Regions from separate parts of the Homo sapiens genome. Here all the other regions are linked to region 2. Evidence: promoter capture Hi-C in 16 types of primary human blood cells and fetal thymus (Javierre and others, 2016). All regions are on one chromosome and are shown on one strand. The core of a region is centred on a gene start or on the middle of the fragment in contact, and the rest is flanking DNA. Distances in the headings are between cores, read along the strand shown.

What was found. Contacts are between HindIII fragments. The CHiCAGO score rates a contact against its expected background, and 5 or more counts as called.
Region 1: a contact is called between the fragment with the promoter of MED9 here and the fragment with the promoter of TOM1L2 in region 2, in 12 of 17 cell types (non-activated CD4 T cells, total B cells, naive CD8 T cells and 9 more). The highest score is 10.9, in non-activated CD4 T cells.
Region 3: a fragment that was not itself captured here is called in contact with the fragment with the promoter of TOM1L2 in region 2 in 1 of 17 cell types (fetal thymus); the score reaches 5.1 in fetal thymus.

The regions. Positions count from the first base shown.
Region 1 is chr17:17,474,483-17,478,644 of GRCh38, reverse strand. MED9 (mediator complex subunit 9) reads right to left here and starts at 1,645. Exons shown (of 2, transcript NM_018019.3): 1 at 1,380-1,645. The coding sequence starts at 1,603. RefSeq lists an enhancer at 1,542-1,641. The HindIII fragment of the contact is 9,122 bases long and covers 1-2,876 here.
Region 2 is chr17:17,969,488-17,973,649 of GRCh38, reverse strand. TOM1L2 (target of myb1 like 2 membrane trafficking protein) reads left to right here and starts at 1,250. Exons shown (of 15, transcript NM_001082968.2): 1 at 1,250-1,388. The coding sequence starts at 1,337. DRC3 (dynein regulatory complex subunit 3) reads right to left here and starts at 788. Exons shown (of 14, transcript NM_031294.4): 1 at 676-788. RefSeq lists enhancers at 497-816, 1,188-1,757 and a silencer at 1,497-1,546. The HindIII fragment of the contact is 5,656 bases long and covers 483-4,162 here.
Region 3 is chr17:17,587,524-17,591,551 of GRCh38, reverse strand. PEMT (phosphatidylethanolamine N-methyltransferase) reads left to right here. Exons shown (of 7, transcript NM_148172.3): 1 at 1-21. Among named protein-coding and RNA genes, the nearest start is that of PEMT, 2.2 kb to the left of the region's middle. RefSeq lists enhancers at 1-92, 1-399. The HindIII fragment of the contact is 969 bases long and covers 777-1,745 here.

The DNA.
Region 1 (4,162 bases), core at 396-2,895, 500 kb after region 2:
CTCGTGATCCGCCCGCCTTGGCCTCCCAAAGTGCTGGGATTACAGGCATGAGACACCATGCCTGGCCCCTATAAACAGTATTTAAACACCAAGTGAAACCAAATGAAGCCAGGGTCTAATGTGAGAACAAAGCCTTTGTAGTTATTTGAAAAGTGGCAGAAGAGCATCAGGTCATCCCACAGCAAGTGAATCTAATTTGCTTAAACTCAAAAGTGGGTGGGCCACTAACAGTCAAGACCTTCACGTTGTAACAATTCCATTTCAGTAAAACAGTGAAGAGCACATTCATGTTCACCTGAATGTTACTGGAATCGTAATTTTCTTTTAATTTACTTTGTTTTGGTCTTTAATGGTTGAGTAAGAGTTACAAGCCTAGGGGTTTACACCTAGTATCACGTGGATATACAGTGAAGTAACATAATGAAAATAATTTACAGCCTGGGCAACATGGTGAAACTCCATCTCTACAAAAAATACAAAAATTCGCTGGGTGCCATGGCTCATGCCTGTGGTTCCGGTTACTTGGGAGGATGAGGTGGGAGGATGGCTTGAGGCCAGGAGGTTGAGGCTGCAGTGAGCCGAGATCACGCCACTGTACTCCAGTCTGGGTGACAGAGCGAGACCCTCTCTCAAAAAAAATAATAATTTAGGCAAACATAAGGATCAGTGAGACTTTTGTGTTTTTGTTTTTGGTTTTTCCTCTACAGAGTCACTTTGAAAACTCAGGCTACCCTGAAGGCTGGCCAAAAGGATGACAACAATTATTTCCTTTGGTACTGTTAGAACAAAGTCAGTACAAGTGGGTCTAATCATCTGAGGCAACTTCTGTGTTTCTGCTTAGTCTAATGTTTCCCATCGCCACCACTCCCGTCTCAATCTTTTTGAATTGTGGGTTATTCCCAATCATGTCTTTTTTTCCTTCTATCTAAACCTTTGGGGGTGAAAAGTTGGCCCCTTTTACTGCGTCCATCCCGTAGCACTTGGCACAGGGAAGATGATGCTTATCTGTTGAGTTTGCTGAACTAAGGAACTAAAGTGAGTATTACCAACATTAAAGGTGAGAAAACTGAGGCTTAAAGAGATTTAATTTGCTCAAGATCGCTGGGATGAACATTTGAGCCGCTGGACAAGAGTCTGCATTTAGTCTCTAAGCTGGCTTCATTCTTAAGGATATCGCACCTCTCGAGGCTCAAATCGTTTGCTTAACTCATGGAATGTCTCTGTGGTCTTGGGAAAGGCCTCTTCCCGCTCTGGGTCTGAGTTTCCCCATCTGTGAAACGGGGGCGTGCCCCAGAGCGCCAAGGCCTCTTGCAGCTCTGAAACGGCTGAGAGGAGAAGCTGGAGGGAGTATGGGGCCTGGTCCTCTCCTAGGTTCTTACCATTTGATGATGTTGTGAACCAAAGGTAAAAAGGAGTAGTTCTCTTCCTCCCTCGCGCGGGCAGGTGACTGAGGCCGTGGCGCCGGCGACTGCTGCGGTTGAGGCGCAGGGACCGGCGGCGGCTGAGGAGGCGGCAGCGGCTTGGTGTCAGGCAGCGGCTGGTCGGACGTTGGCGGCAATACATCCTCCGCCTGTCGCCCGGCTGCCACCCCAGCAGAGGCCATGGCTCCGGGGGTAGGTTAGCCAGAGGTCGGGTCGCCAAAAGCGTCGCGCACTCTACACGTCACCACCGCGCGCCCTGCAGGGGCGGGGTGTGGAGGAAGGCTCTGAGCGTGCGCACTGGGCAGTCGGCGGGAAAAGGCGCGGAGGCGGGGGTGGGGAGGCTGTTGCTAGGCAACGGGCCGTGGGTGGGTCTGGGGTGCCTGGATTTGGATTGTGAGTCAAGATTGCTAAATTATTAAATAGTGAGAAATAGGGGTTTATTTCAGAAATAACAATCTTTTTTTTTTTTTTGAGACGGAATTTCGCTCTTGTTGCCCAGGCTGGAGTGCAGTGGCGCGATCTCGGCTCACCGCAACCTCCGCCTCCCGGGTTCAAGCGATTCTCCTGCCTCAGCCTCCCTAGTAGCTGGGATTACAGGCATGCACCACCACGCCCGGCTAATTTTATATTTTTAGTAGAGACGGGGTTTCTCCATGTTGATCAGGCTGGTCTCGAACTCCCCACCTCAGGTGATCCGCCCGTCTCGGCCTCCCAAAGTGCTGGGATTACAGGCGTGAGCCACTGCACCCGGCCAGAAATAACAATCTTCTTATTCCTATTCACACGATGAAGAGGGCCCCAAAGCCACAAACACAGGAAGCCTTGAGATTAGTAAGGTGCAGCCTGGCCCAGTGCACCCAAGTCTGGAGAGGAGCCACTGGACCTGTGGGAGGCGTAGACAGCACTTACCTGCTGGGTGAGGCACCAAACCCGGCCCAGCCCACAGTGCAAGACATCGAGACCTCGAGTTTAGCCCTAAGGACGCAGAGGCAAAGGGATTGCGGTCCCTTCAATGCTGCAAGGTTGCTTAGAAAGAGTCTAATAATTCAACTCAACACACATTTAGTATGCACCTGCTGGATGGCCACCTGTATGTGTGGTTGCAGGCAGGCTGTCCTTGCTTTCAGTACAAGGTAGAGGGGATTGGTGCCAGGAGTAAATATCATATCCTGGAAGAACGACAAGGTCAGGTACTCTCCATACCTTCGGGCCAGTTCCCCAAGCCCCTAGGTCCCAGTTTCCTCACCCCTAAAATCATATTTAGTTCAGATTCATGGCACAGCCTAAACTGCATTCTAACTTCACATGCGTGGCTGACCCCAAAAGGTCTTGTTGGCATGAGGACTCCCTAGGATCATAGGCCAAAGATGGGTTTATGGTTATGCTTCTCAAAACAAGTTTGATATGAGGGCTGTGTAGTAATTTTCCGGGCAATGGGGACACCCACCCCAAGCTTAGCTAGTGAGTAGAAGACATGAGTGGGGAAAGCTGTCAACTGGTGAGCCCATTCTGCTGTAATCCACCATCATGGGCAGTACAGAGAGGCGAGGAGGTCCACATCCACATAGCATGATGAACAGGAGCCTTAAGAGCAAGGTGGCCAGGGAAAGGATCAATGCTGATATTTTCAGGCACATTGGGAGGGCTGTGCGGAGGCAGATCCTTGGGGAGTAGGACCATAGATGGAAGTGCTGTTGGAGGGTGCGCTGTACAGGTTCTGTAGTAAAGGGCCTCAGCACAGCTCTCTGCAGCAAGAGCTGCCCACGGTGCCCCAGAGAGAGAGCAAAGGGAGGGAGTGGGTTGCGGAGTTTTCTTCCTTCTAACCATTGACCTCTCCAACTAAGGGAAAGTTCAAGAGTTCTGGTTGAGCATGGAGGAGAAAAAGGCCAGATGTGCTTGAAGAGACTGTATACCCTTGGAGTCATCTGGGGAAAGATGATATAGTAATAGTAATAATAATAGTAATTACCACAACTACCATGGAGTAAAAGTAGATACAGGGAACAGAGTTACAGTCACTGTCTCAATCCACAGACAGAGGTCTAGAAGATGGATGTCAGGATCCCCATTTTCTAGATGAGAAAACCAAGACTTACAATGGTTAAGATCCCAGCCTAAGGGTCAACGCAGTTGCTGATGCCAAGTCTATGATCTTAACCAACACTAAAGAGACTTCGGATCCCTACCAGTTCTGTAACTTTATGATTCAAAATGTTAAAGTGGGTTTGAATTCAGAATTCAAAAACCAATCCAATATTCATCAATAATATCCCCATGGCAATCACACGTCATCTTTGCCCTCCCAGAGTGTTTTATAACTTAATTATGAGCCACAACTATATCATTGTCAGAAAAATGAGGATGCTTCTTAAAAGAAAAAACACTTGAGGTATAAATAGATATGGCTAAAGAAAACAGGTTGAAAACCTAGGAAGCATGAACCAGTATGGTGCATTGACAGTTTGCCCTAAAAATAGTTAATATAATTAGTGGCAAAGAGTAAAGCTGACTTCATAATGTTGCAAGCGGATGTCAGAAAAATACTGCCTGTGCTGGTTTCATTAAAGCTGAAATTGCCACAACAAATGTGTGTCTGTTTATAACCTGCTCTGTTAAAAGTCAGGAAAGACAGATGCTCCATTGATATGTAAGGACAATGTATTGTGGTGAAGGAAACTTCACCCCACCACAAGGGAAGCTCTAAGGTCATTGCTTTCTTAGGTGGATTTATGCCGTTTCTC
Region 2 (4,162 bases), core at 1-2,500:
AAAATAAAAAATAAATAAATAAATAAATAATGAACAAAATTTTTCTTAAAAAAGAATAAAATCAATCACTTACTGAATGCTTACTGTGTGCTCAGTGCACATGCATTATTTAAGTACATGTAAGCTCCGGAGGCCATAAAAAGGGAGTCCTAATGCCCTTATTTCCCAGCTAGGGAACCTGAGGCTCCAGGGAGGTAAAGGAACTTGTCCAAAGTCGTACAATGAGTTACTGACAGAGACGGATACAGAACTTGAGTAGCCGTATTCACATCCAAAGCGGTATATACAGTACCAAGATGAAATCATTTGATAGTTATGAGGTCAGTTATGATGGCTAAATTCTGGGAAAAGTTATCAGTGGACCGGGTACCTCTCTTTCTATGAAAGGAGGCTGGAAGACGGAACCCCTTAAAAATCCATTCTGGCCCTGCTCCCTCGGGAAATGCTTCCTTAGTATTTTTTTTTTTTTTTATTCAAAAGCTTGACAAGCCCAGGACTAAAGTGTCTTGGCTGTCTCACACGACTGTAAAGTGGCTGGGAGAGGACCTACGTGCTCATTTTATAAATGAGAAGGGCCGGGCCGGCGTTCTCCGAGAAAAAGGTCACAGGAAAGAGTTACGTCGGGCACTATCTGTCCCTGCAAGTCCTCCGGGAGCCTCAGCTCCCAGGTCTCACCTTCTCAAGCGCTGGGAACTCGGCGGTTCCACGCAGCAGACGCGTCTCCCGGTTGCTGGGGAACCAAGCGCCGCGACTTGGTTGCTAAGGGGAAGTCAGAAGGGAGACATCCTGGGTGAAAGTTGACAAGTCACGTGACCACATCTCCGTGTGGTGAAACACTCCTTACACCAACCAGCCGTAGAGAAAACAAATGTTTCTCCAATCAGTACTTTCTATGGGCGGGGATATTCCTAGATTCACCTCTGTTCCGTCCATTTGCGTGATTGACTCGTCTTTTGTCCAATAATAGTAAGAATCCTTTAGATTGACCAATATACAGAGGAATCAAAATGCGCAGCTTCCCCTTTGGGGGCGGGCCAGGGGAGGTGCCGCCACGGCTGACAGGGACTCCGGTGACCTAGCTCGCTCCTCCGCCCAATCGGACGCTGCGGGGTGGGTGGGGGCTTTGCTGACAGAGGTGTAACGACCAATAGGAGGCGGGCTTCGTAGGTGTCCCCCAATAGAGACGCGGCAAGGGGGCGGGGCCAAAGGCCCTAAGCTCGGCGTTCCAGAGAGTGGGGAGGGGGCAAGTGTCAGTCAGGACGGGAGTCCGGCGGGTTACAGCGGAGGCCTAGGTGGCAGACAGGGGGCCCGGGCCGCTGCGTGTTGTCCACCCAAGATGGAGTTCCTCCTGGGGAACCCGTTCAGCACACCAGTGGGGCAGTGCCTCGGTAAGGCCGCGTGTGGGGCAGGAGGCTGGGCAACGGCGGCCGCTGATCCGGCTGGTGAGGACCGCGGGCCTCCGCCGGGCGCCGGTGCCACTTCACGAGCGGGCTGGGCCTCCGCCAGCCGCGGGTGCCACTCCACGAGCGGGCTGGGCATCCTGGTCGTCGGGCCTTTGCCGGGCGCTTGTGCCACCTCACGGGCGGGCTGGGCATCCTGGTCGTCTGGCCTTCACTGGGCGTCGGTGCCACCTCACGGGCGGGTTGGGCATCCTGGTCGTCGGGCGTTCGCCGGGCGCCGGTGCCACCTCCCGGGGGGGCTGGGCCTTCGCCGGGTGCCGGTGCTATCCCACGGGCAGGCAGGGCATCTGTGTCCTCGGGCCTCCTCCCGGGCACTGGTGCCACCTCACGGGCGCGCCAGTGCCACTCTGCCAGGAGGCACCCCTGAGGCCCAACTTGGACTCGGAGATGCCCCAGGCTTCCCTGCCCATCAAGGCTCAGCCCTTCCTTTTGCTGCTAGAGGTGGTGCCAACTGCTGGTCTGCTTCCCCAATGCGCTTTGGGAGATGCCACTGCATGTGTCTTTATCCAGCCCAGCAGGCTCACTGCCACTGCCCCAAGGACCCAGTTCTCCCAAACCCTTTGTGGGATGTCACCTTCTTCTCCATCTTTGTCCCTCCTCTTCGGTACCAGCAACCCTCAGACTGGGCACCCTCCCAGAAATGCCCCCTGCTCCGGGACTTGCTAATTTGAGCTGCAACTCAGCTGTGCTGTAGGAGGGACTGGGATAGGAGGAGGGGCTCTTGGAGGGTGATTATCTTGGCAGGGGGATGGCATGCCTGCAGTGCCTCCCAGGAAAGAAGGGAGGCTGTGTTATTTAATGATAAGAGCCCTGGACTGGGAATCATGGAAGCCTGGACTCTAGCAGTGGTTTTGTCAGTGACTCCATATGACCTTGTGCCCTTTCTGGTTTGAAGTTCCCCTGTCTGTCAAAGTGTTTGGAGATGAGATGTGATAGATCCCTTAAAGTTCTCAAGTTTTGATATTCTTTGTAGTACTCTGCACATTGACTGTTGCTTCCTCCCCCACCTCATATTAAGTTTACCAAAGCTGAAATCTTTTGTTGGCAATGTAGAGAGAATGGTACTCAGCATTATCTGTTAATCCTATAGGGGGGATGTGGACACCTGGGGACACCAGAGATGGCCAGAATCATGGATAAGGAAAGCCCAAAGTGTAGGTAAAGGAATACTGAAATGGCCACCATATGGGACTTCCTTACTAAGAAAGCAACTTGCCTTTTTACCCAAGGCAGTGGCTTATGCCACTTGATCAGTCAAGAATGCTGATTAGTTTGTTTGAAAACTGGATTCCTCCTGGTTGGTTGAAGGACTGGTAAAACGTCTTTTATGAGCCAGGATCTTTGGTGTTCTTATGGGCCTGATTTCAGCAGTAGTGATTTGTTTATTTTCTGCTTTGCTTATGAAATTTTAGCTTACTTTCCAGCCTTTAGTGGAGCCTATAAACTTATTGAGGTCTCTCCTGTTGGCTAATTAGCATTTAGGAGCCTTTCTTTACTTTCTGGCGTAGTATCTTTTATAATGCATGAGGGACCCCAAAAGAGTGTTTTCCCACCTTTTTGACATCTTGTCTCTTGCTGCCCACTGGAGAGTCTCTGGATTCTCACTTCCTTACTTCTTCCCCATGTCCTTTTCCACTCTCTTCAGGTGCTCTTGCATGGCAGCCACACTCCAAAAACTAATTTCCAGCCAGTTAATGGAGGGAGCCAGAAAACTTGCGAGAATTGTTTTCCTTTCTGTCCCCTTTATAATAGGAAGCTCTACACCTTTAAAATGACAAGGTAGTAAATGAGGGGTAGAAGTTAAAGGGGATTTAAAATACAAATGTGGTTGGGTGCGGTGGCTCACGCCTGTAATCTCAGCACTTTGGGAGGTTGAGGCGGGCGGATCACAAGGTCAGGAGATCGAGACCATCTTGGCTAACACGGTGAAACCCCGTCTCTACTAAAAATCCAAAAAAAAAAAGAAAATTAGCCAGGCGTGGTGGCATGCGCCTGTAGTCCCAGCTACTCGGGAGGCTGAGGCAGGAGAATTGCTTGAACCCGGGAGGCGGAGTTTGCAGTGAGCTGAGATTGTGCCACTGCACTCCAGCCTGGGCGACAGAGTGAGACTCTGTCTCAAAAAACAAACAAACAACAACAACAACAACAAAAAACCAAATATAAGAGATATAGGGATATATAGCAAGTGGAAAGAGCTTGATACTTCTGTCAGGGAGACCTAAGTTGAATTTTGACCTGGCCCCCATTTCTTGGCTGTGTGACCCCAGAAAATTGTGTTGCTTTCTGAGGTTTAGTTTGTCAGTCTTCTGAGAGAGAGAGAGAGAGAGAGAAAGATTCCTATTCACAGAGTAATGTAGTTTAAATGAGATAATGTATGAAAACACTTAGCATAGTATCTGGAACATAGTAGAAGCTCAGTAAATTGAAACTGCCACTGTTAATAACAGAATATTTAAGTTAGGGTTGGATTTTCTATCTGGAGAGGATATGTGAAACAACTGGCCCGTCTGTGACCTGTGAAGGAAAATACCCTACCAGGCCCCAGGATTCACCATTGCTCATAAGATGCTTGACTAAAGATGATGATGGCTCCCCACTGCCAGGTAGCCAATAGGTCATTTCAGTTCAGTTCAGGTAAATGATTAATGGACAGAATTAGGTTCTAATGTATATTCCGTACTGTTGTGACAAAGTGTCAAAGT
Region 3 (4,028 bases), core at 12-2,511, 380 kb after region 2:
GGCAATATTGATTTTAGACAGGTACTGACCGCACCGGACCGCCGCGGAAACTGGGAGAGGGATCTGCAAGGCCCGAGGGGCGTGAAGGCTTGCGGCGCCTCAAACGCTGCGGGGCGGGGCCGCCAGTTCCCAGGCAATGGGGGCGTGGCGTGGCGGGGGTGGGGGAGCCGCGTGCGGGAGCGCCGGCTGGTGTCTGTGTGTGTGCGTGTGCGCGCGCGTGTAAACCTCAGATTGCGTGTGTCAGAGACGGGGGCGTTCCTGAGCTCGTCTGATTGTGTGCCTGTGTGTGGCCCTGAGATTGTGTGAGACTCAGAGGTTGTCCGTGTTAGTCTTTGGGATTGTGTCTCACTGAAATTATGTGATGCTCTGAGAGTGTGCCGGAGAGTGAGTGTGAGTGTGTATGACCGAGGCTGTGTGTGACTGAGCGTGGGCGAGGGTGAAGGAGGCCGATTATATGTTTGGGAGTGTGTTGTGTGGCCCCTGCTCCCGTCCATCCCCCAGGGTCAGGAGGCCAGCTTTTGCCCAGAGGCAAGAGAGTGGTGGGGACCCTGCCTGTCTCCCAGCCGGCCCTGGGCAGGCTGCAGACCACCACCCAGCCGTTTCGGGGCCATAATGGGTGCGACCGGCCCCAGAAGCTGGGGGCCTGGCTTGCCTGCTGAGGCTGCCCTCTGCAGAGTCCTAGGCCAGAGAGTGCCTGTCCTGGCATCTCCCCAGGCTCCCAATTCCAATGGATTCCAATTTCCAACCTCTCTTGCATTCTCCCTTCTATCAAAGCTTCCTCTTAGATGCTCCATTTACCTTTTTCATCACCCACTCTTCATGAAGCCTGTAAGGCACATCTCTGCCCCAAGCAGCTTCTAATCCAGTTCTTTCGCTCCCTTCATTCCTTACTCACATGTGCATTTATTCACTCACTGATCCAGCCAGTATTGATTCAGGGCCGGCTGAGGGCCTCGTGTCACTCAGAAGTTTAAGGGCACTTCTGTCACTGAGCTTTCATTCTAGGGAGGGAGATTGTAGGCCTGGAAAGCCAGAGAGTTCTCTGAAGGAGCTAATACCAGTTAGTGTTTTGAAGAGTAGCTGATGGGAAGGCGGGATTGAAATCCCAAGAGAGCCTGTTGCCGTATCTGCGAGGGAGGGACCTGGGATCTGAGAGCCGAAAGGTCAGTCAGTGGGGCAAGATTCCCCAGAGGAGGGAGGCAGTTGCGAAGCCCTCCAGGAGGCACAGGAGGAGATGGGCCGCTGGCCCTGAGGGAGCGCAGGACCGTTGGCCAGATGGGTGCTCAGCAGAGGACAGGAAGAAGACTATTACTTTAGTAAACTGTCCATTGAATTACAACATGCAGTCAGATGAGTGATGGGTCCTACCCCTACAGCTCCTGCATTTTCACCAGGTGAACCTGTATCTGTTAATCCTCAGATCAAGATGGGGGGTCATGATCACCTCCAGGGGCTGCCCTCAGAAGCCACCGTGTAGAAGGGTGGGTGGGGGAGCCATGTAGAAGGGGGGGCAGAATGCAAGGGGGCAGTGTCCCTTTGCAGACCCATCTAGGGGCCTGCCCCAGGGCCTGCCAGTGGGCAGGGGAGACTAACCGGGTGTGTGAGGGGTGGGCTTCTCTGCTCTTTCTCCTTTCTCCCCAGGGCTGTGCAGCTGGAGAGAGCTGGGGCTGGGGTTCGGGTCAGGGTGACCCTTGTTGACTAACATTCTGCTTTTCTTCTGCTGTCCTTGTTGGTGCAGTTAAGCTTCCTGTTGCCAAGGGATTTTTCTTAAAGAAAGAAAGAAAGAAACATACAACATACAACATTACATATTTGCTTATGTGGTAGCTCTACTCCCTCCTCAATCAAAATCTCCGGTTTTAAAATATGTCAGTCCCTGGCCTGGGAGAGTTGCAAGGTTTTTGTTCACCCCATGGGCGTCTGAGCTGCAGGATCTCCGGTGCTAGCCCTGTGCTGCTGTGCTGTCCAGTAGAAACATCGTGTGCCACATGCATAATTTAAACCTTTCTAGTAGCCATGTTAAATTAGTGAGAAGAAATGGAAAATAGCAAAGAAATAGAAAAATAATTTTGACAATATATTTTATTGTTACCAAAATATATATCAGACATATTTTGTCCTGTGGCATTCCAAGCTTGTGGCACTGCCTGTGACCAGTGGCTGCCATGTCATACCAAACAGTGCTGCTCTGGGTACCATGCCCTCCACCAGCTCTTTTCTGGGCCTGCTTCAGCAGGTACAGAATCTTGCTTTTGTTTTTAAAAAAAAAAAAAAAAAAATCAGCTGTTGGGGCTGGGCACGGTGGCTCACGCCTGTAATCCCAGCACTCTGGGAGGCCAAAGCAGGTGGATCACCTGAGGTCGGGAGTTTGAGACCAGCCTGACCAACATGGAGAAATCCCATCTCTACTAAAAATATAAAAAGTTAGCCAGGCGTGGCGGCACATGCCTGTAATCCCAGCTACTCGGGAGGCTGAGGCAGGAGAATCACTTGAACCCCGTAGGTGGAGGTTGCAGTGAGCTGATATCACGCCATTGCACTCCAGCCTGGGCTAGAAGAGCGAAACTCTGTCTCAAAACAAAAACAAACAACCCAAAGAATCAGCCATTGGGCTGAGGAGTTAGGGTGAGGAGTGTGCCCGCTGCAGCCCCACTGACTAAGGCCCTTTTGCTCCTTGTTGCCCTCCCTGTCAGGATTCTGGAGCCTTGCTCCTCAGCTGGGCAGCTGCCTGAAGGCAGTGGGGTGGCAGATGGATGAGAGCAGGGTCTGCATCTTGCTGTCCACAGGCCGGGGCACCTCCAGGATTCAGAAGATGACTCCAGTAGGGCCTAGGGGTGCGGGCACCCAGGCTGGCAGAGCACACTGAGGTCCTCAGAGCAAGGGCACATGCCCAGGTCTCAGGTCCCTTTTCCATAGCGAATCACCTGCTCACCAGAGCGGGTGAGTGATGATGTCTCCAGCTTGGTGTTGGTGTCAAGAAGAATGGGGACAGTGAGGGGGTTATGGTGAAGACCAGAATGAGATGAGGGGTGTAAAGCTTTATGAAGTATCGAGTGCAGCCCACCTAAGGGTGGTCCTCAAGAAGGCAAAGCCCTTGTATTCAGAAGGCTGAGAGACCTGGGGCAGGGGACACAGGTCCCTGTGTGTAATATGGGCACCCGAGTAAGACCCTGGAGGCAAAGCTCCGATGGCCGATGCGGGGTATCTTGACTGCCTTTCAGGGAAAAATGTTTGCCTTTATCCAAAATCGTTTCCAAAAATCTTTTGATTGTATTACTTTAGTTGAAATAAACATTAGGCCGTTATATTAGATGAGTTACTCTGTGGTGTTTTCAAGGCCGTACATTTTGTCTTCAGTAATTTTGGCATCAGCCAAGACAGAGCAGGGTTGAGGCTTTCCGTGGCTGCTCATCAAAACAATGACAGAAACTCTTGGAGCTTGTTTCCCCTGCCTCTGTTGAGATGACACTGTTTTTCCTCATTAAGCTGTAAATATGAATTCCATTGATGTTTTGAATGTTGAACTAGCTCTGGATTCCTGGGGTGATCTCTGGCTGGTCCTAACATATTATCCTTTGTATATATTGCTGGATTTGATTTGCTCTAATTTTTGGGGGGATCTTCTTTCTTTATCTGGTTTCATTTGATTTAATTAATTTATTTATTTTAAGACAGAGTCTCGCTCTGTTGCTCAGGCATGTACTCAGGAATGCAGTGGCGTGATACCAGCTCATTGCAACCTCCGCCTCCCGAGTTCAAGCAATTCCCCCACCTCAGGCTCCCGAGTAGCTGGGATTACAGGTGCACCTACCACCACACCTGGTTTTTGTTTTGTTTTGTTTTGTTTTTTGTATTTTTAGTAGCGACAGGGTTGTTGGCCAGGCTGGTCTCAAACTCCTGACCTTAAGTGATCCACCCACCTTGGCCTCCCAAAATGCTGGGATTACAGGCGGTGAGCCACTGCACCCGGCCTGGTTTTAGTGTTAGGGTAATACAGTGAGTTGGGAAGTATTGCCTCCCTCTTCCAT